Linked DNA regions of Homo sapiens: region 1 is linked to region 2. Evidence: promoter capture Hi-C in 16 types of primary human blood cells and fetal thymus (Javierre and others, 2016). All regions are on one chromosome and are shown on one strand. Each heading gives the region's core, a stretch centred on a gene start or on the middle of the fragment in contact. The rest is flanking DNA. Distances are from core to core; before and after follow the strand shown. Region 1 has its middle 9.4 kb from the start of ZDHHC21. Region 2 holds the start of TTC39B (tetratricopeptide repeat domain 39B).

Region 1 (2,848 bases), core at 216-2,715, 600 kb before region 2:
TGTGGACACAGAATGGGAAGTGCTGAGCTCTCAGAAAGTCAAAGGAAAGAGGAGAGTGCTGAGCTCTGGGAAAGGAGATGAAAAGGCAGAAGGAGACAGTACTTCTTCACTTTGCTCAGGTGAAGAGAATGTTGAATACAGAAATGAATCTCCAAGTCCTTCAAGGAAAATCCTGGTACCAAAAGTAACAAAAGAAATACTTTCTGTTATATCTTATGGCTCCAAAACACTTTATAGAATTAACTTTTGTTGGTTTACAAATATACTATAATAATTCAACATACCTGCTTTGAGTTCATTGTACCTACACCTAATAAATGGGAAAATTTAGGCCACCTGGAATTTCACCTTTTGACACATCGTGGGAAGCCTCAGCCTTAGGTGATAAAAAACATGGTTCACATGGATGCAACAGCAAATAGAGATGCGTGAGAAAATCCCATAGGCAATACGGGCTCAAAGTGTGGTGATGAATGGCCTGAGGCAAGCAAACACTATCAAAGAATTCAGTGGAATCAATGGTAAAAGATTGACCAACTACTTAGAAGACACTGACCACATGTGGGATTTATTAACTACCTATGCTGCTTCAGGTAGCAAGACCTACCAAACTCACACATATCTACATATTCTTTGTCAAGGAGTAAGTTGCACTACAACTGCATTACAAAAACAAAAAAGTCACTTCCAAATTCATATCTGCTCTAGCAGGCAACCTTCTTACTAACTCCTCTGTCTTCTTTCCCACTTTTTGCTGTTTGGGAAGAACCTGGAGATAAAACTCTACAAAACCACATAGGCAAATAACGACATGGGGTCAACCTCAGGTTTAGAAAACCCTGCCCCCAGAAATCATCCCCAGGCCTGGATTTGTGAAAGCCAGCATTCTGAGAGACTCTTTCCTAAAACCATCTGATCACAGTTGTACTGTCATTTATTAATTACCACGGGAACCACCAACTGTCATCATGAAATCTTTTATAGGCATACTGTAAATATTAAAAGAGCATATTAAAGTTATACCATATGCAGCAGCAGCTGATGCTATTTTATGAAGACAATATTAGAGAGTATGCAGAATTATCACACTACAACGCCCATGATCTCTATTTCTTACAGCTGCCCTGGAGCATGACGCTGGGCCACAATTTTAACTCTTTAATCACAGAGGGGAGTAATTTGACTGATCATTTACACTGAAGCAAACTTTATCACTTAAACCAGGGTATATAGTTAATTACATGGATGCCTTTTTGTACATTCACCAGTCAACTTTTTATTATGAAAATGAGAGCAGGAGGATTTTCTTTGAAGTTTCCTAGGGAAGGAAAGAGTGTTTCCCCTGTCTTATAGTTGAAATCAGTGTGTAGGAGTGGCTCCTAGAAGCCACATGACCTATCTGCGTTAGCTTAGACTGTGTGTCAAGTGCAGTGGCCATTCTGGCAAGATAGCACATTTGTCTGATGAACTTTGTGAAGTCAACCCAAAGCTAACTTGAGGCTTATTTGGGTTGTCTCATAAGACCTGCTGCTTGCTCCCCCAAAATCTTCCCCATTGGTCTGTCACAATATCTGAAACTTGTCCCACTGTACTTGAGAGAGAGACAACTAGGTCTAGAATCTTCTGTTAAAATGCAAAATATAGATGATAGTTTGGAAATACTGTTAATTATCTTAGGAGTGATTATAGTATTCTAATTATATAGGAGGATATTCTTATTCTTAGGAGATGCATGCTGGAGTATTAAAGTGGAAGTGTCAGCCAGGCGCAGTGGCTCATGCCTGTAATCCCAGCACTTTGGGAGGCTGAGGCAGGCGGATCATGAGGTCAGGAGTTCGAAAACAGCCTGGTCAACATAGTGAAACCCCCATCTCTACTAAAAAAAATACAAAAAATTAGCTGGGCATGGTGGCAAGTGCCTGTAATCCCAGCTACTCAGGAGGCTGAGGCAGGAGAATCGCTTGAACCCGGGAGGCGGAGGTTGCAGTGAGCCAAGATCGCACCATTGCCCTCTAGCCCAGGTGACAGTGCAAGACTCCGTCTCAAAAAAAAAAAAAAGTGGAAGTGTCTTGATATTTGAAATTTACTTTCACATGTTCAAACAATACAGAAATATGTAGTGAATACACATATACACTCATTCATACAAGTTGAGATATAAAGCAAATATGACAAAATGCCAACAAATTGTTGAATTAAGGTAGAATGTATAGAAGTATTTTTGGTACTTTTTTTCAGCTTGGTTTTAAAATCTTCATGACTAAAAAGGGAAAAAAACTCAGATATCTGAGCATACCCCCAAACCCACTGAATCAGCATCCTTGGGTATGGAACCCAGAAAGAGGCATTGCCAGTAAGTGCCTGAAGTAAGTTTTAGGGCCAATAATAGTTGAAAATTATTGAATTATAATGCTAAATACTGATGGAAGAATAAGTGTAATGACTACGTGATAAAAAGTGCAACTTAGAAGAAGGATGGAGCAAGATGGTAGAGTAGTACTCTCCAGTGATTGTCCCCCAACAGAGACATCAATTTGAACAACTACCCACATGCAAAAATACCTTCACAAGGGCTAAGAAAAACATATGAGAGATCACAGTGCCTGGTTGTAGCACAAAAATAAGAAAAGATACATTGAAGAGGGTAGAAAGGAGAGTTTTACATTACCTGTGTCACCCCTTCCCAACTCCAAGCAGCATAGCACAGAGACAGATACTGTCCACTTAGGGGAAAGAGAGGTAAATGAACTTAGGACATTCTCCCGGGCCCCAACACTGGGCCTACCATTGTAAAATTCAGTACCAGGAAGACTCCCCCACAGTCTTTTACACAAGACCCTGCAGAATG
Region 2 (2,700 bases), core at 1-2,500:
TGTCTCTCTGTCATGCAGAGGAGCTGTAGTTCAGTTTTTGTTTTTTGTTTATTTTACGGAGCACATTTAAAGTATAGTCTTCCTTGTCAGGAGATTCCTGGCACTAAAGAGATGGACGGGAAACTTAACCGCCTCCTCCAGATCGTCCACTATTGCATCATTTGAAACCAAAGCCTTCTAAAGGCAGCGACTCGCACAATTCAAGTCAGGTAAGATGGCAGGAACAGCAGCTGTGGGTGCTGGCTGCTGCTGGAGCCTCGGTCTCAACTTCAAGAGCAGGGAGAGCGCTGTCTCTGGAGTTGCCAGGTGCTGAAATGAATAGTCAATAAATCAACAGGTCCGGCGCGCTAGCCCCTGGGTGCTCAGGCCCGGGCGCGCCACGACTGAAGGAGTGGCTAATTACTCAAACACAGTTGAAACCAAAGGAGGCCGGAGTCGGTTCTCAAAGTGGTTTCCCTCCGGCCACCACCGACTCTGAGGACCTGCTAGGGGAAGTGTCCCGGCCCCGTGGAGGGAGAGGGAAGCACCACAGCCTGGGCTGCGGCTCTAGCCCTCCAGCCCCAGCCCCTGGCAGCCCTGCCCTGCTGTCGCGGCAGGTACCCCTCTACTCATTGTTCCTCAGGCTGCCCCCTCTTTTCATCAATCGTAAGCCTTTCGGTTCTGCCACCAGGAAACTTCCATAGAAGGTGAGATTCCCAGGTCGAGGGATGATTCCACGAACACCCAGAGAGCCAGTGCCAGGACTTCAGGGTCAGACTTCGTAAAGCCCAGGCGTCGCTGGGCCGGCCCGGAACAGCTCAGAGCTGCGGGTCCTATGGTCCCGCGCCCTCACGCCCATCCAAGTGCTGGCAGGACGTGGGTCCTCCATCCCCACGACTCGCGGGGCCGGCGCTCCGAACCTCGGCACTGCGTCCGCTCCGCGCGCCGCAGGGACCCTCCTAGCTCCAGCGGGGACAGACCTACCAAGGCCGGGCGCCCCCACCCGGCGCCCGCCAGCCCACCCCAGAGAGGGGACCAAGGGGGCGGGGCCTCGGCCGTCCTAGCCGGGCTCACTCTTCTCTCCCGGACTCCTGTCCAGGGCTTCAGGGGCCGGGCCCGCAATCCCCATCGGATCGTACCTCGTCCGCTTCCAGCTCCGCTCGGCTGCCTAAGAGCGCCATATTCCTCCTCTGGCTGCTGCCACCCAAAAACCAAGCAGGGAACTCAGAGCCGACTCCTGCTCTCGGCTCTGGGCTCAGCCCAGCGCAAAGGAGGGCAAAAGGGGACGGCCCGGCGCTCCCTCCGGGTCTCGGGCGGGGCCTGAGTGCAGCTACTCGATTTCCCCGCCCCCGGAGCCGGCAGGCCAGCACAGCATCCATTTCCTCCCCGGACGCCGCGCCGCTGGCCGGGCCACTTGCCCGGCCCCCAGCGGGCGGCAGCCCCGCCCAAGTGGGTGGAGTCACCTCCCAGATAAAGTTTCCCGGTCTGGCACGCCCTCTGGGAGGGTTTCCTAAGCTTTCCTGCCGCCTGTTCTCTGCGGTGGCTGGGCACACCTGGAAAGAAGCTAGAGAGCGCGGGCATGACGAAGCCAAGGTCAAAGCAGCGCCCCACCTGGGGTCCGTGGAAGCATCCACCTGGTCTTTGGTCCGGTGCCAGTCCTTTTCCCTCGCCAGGTGGCCACCGCATCTCGCAGATGGTGTGGCCTGAGGGCAGCCTTGGGTCACGGTCACTGGTCCCCGAGAGGCCTCTGACACACCACCCACCTGGACTGTAGGTGGAAGGACTCTGCTTGCTTCTGTGTTCAAAAAATAGAAAAAAACGCGGGACAGAGATTTATACATATTGGAACTCCTCTACTTCCCCCTACCCGGACAGTGTATTCTCCCCATAGCATCCTGTATTTTGTAACTCCAAACATAGGTGTATAATTCGTGCTTGAACTATAAACTCCATGGGGGTAGGATGCTATCTGTCCTCTTCAAGACTGTATCCCCAACACCCAGAACAGTGTCTTGCACATCGTAGGTGCTCAACAGATATTTGTTGGCTGAGTTTAGAAACTGAACCTTGCTTCTGACATGTAAAATAACTGGAAAATTAAAAGCTAGATCTTTAAGAGTTTGGGGGAGAGAGGTCAGATTTACTTTACATACAGAAAAATGCACCAAGTTAAATGTGTGATTCAGTGACAAGTGTTTACAAAGCATCCCAGTCATAATATAGAACATCCTGAAAAGTTTTCTGTGACCCTTTGCTGTCAATTTCCTACCTCCGCTCCCTAGCCTCTGTCAATCACTGATCTGCTATCAACATCGATTTGCCTTCTCTAGAATTTCATATAAATTTAATTAGAGCATGTGGTCTTCCATGTCTGGCTCATGAAAGGCTATTTAATAGTCATCCAGTGATAACTGTAAAAACAGCTAATAGTTCTTGAGTCCTTACTATGTGCCAGGACTCTACTGAACCTCTTGCATATAGTATTTCATTTATTCTTCATAACCCCATAAAGTAGGGTGCTGTTCTCTTTCAGATGAGTAAACTGAGGCTCAGAGAGTTCAAGTAATATGCCTGAGGCCAGACAGCAGTTAAGTAAGTAGGGATGCCAGCATCTGAACCCCAGCAGTCTAACTCTAGGGCCTAGCTGATAACCATTGCTTTGTACTGTACTGGCTCTAGCCACCCTCCCTCTCTTTCTTTCTGTGTCAGTAGAGCAGTTGT

The links. Contacts are between HindIII fragments. The CHiCAGO score rates a contact against its expected background, and 5 or more counts as called.
Region 1: a contact is called between a fragment that was not itself captured here and the fragment with the promoter of TTC39B in region 2, in 1 of 17 cell types (total B cells). The highest score is 5.2, in total B cells.

The regions. Positions count from the first base shown.
Region 1 is chr9:14,701,425-14,704,272 of GRCh38, forward strand. No RefSeq gene overlaps it. Among named protein-coding and RNA genes, the nearest start is that of ZDHHC21, 9.4 kb to the left of the region's middle. The HindIII fragment of the contact is 4,992 bases long and covers 1-2,848 here.
Region 2 is chr9:15,305,966-15,308,665 of GRCh38, forward strand. TTC39B (tetratricopeptide repeat domain 39B) reads right to left here and starts at 1,251. Exons shown (of 20, transcript NM_152574.3): 1 at 1,119-1,251. The coding sequence starts at 1,160. RefSeq lists enhancers at 1-452, 1,016-1,578 and silencers at 816-1,135, 1,166-1,505. The HindIII fragment of the contact is 2,405 bases long and covers 1-1,492 here.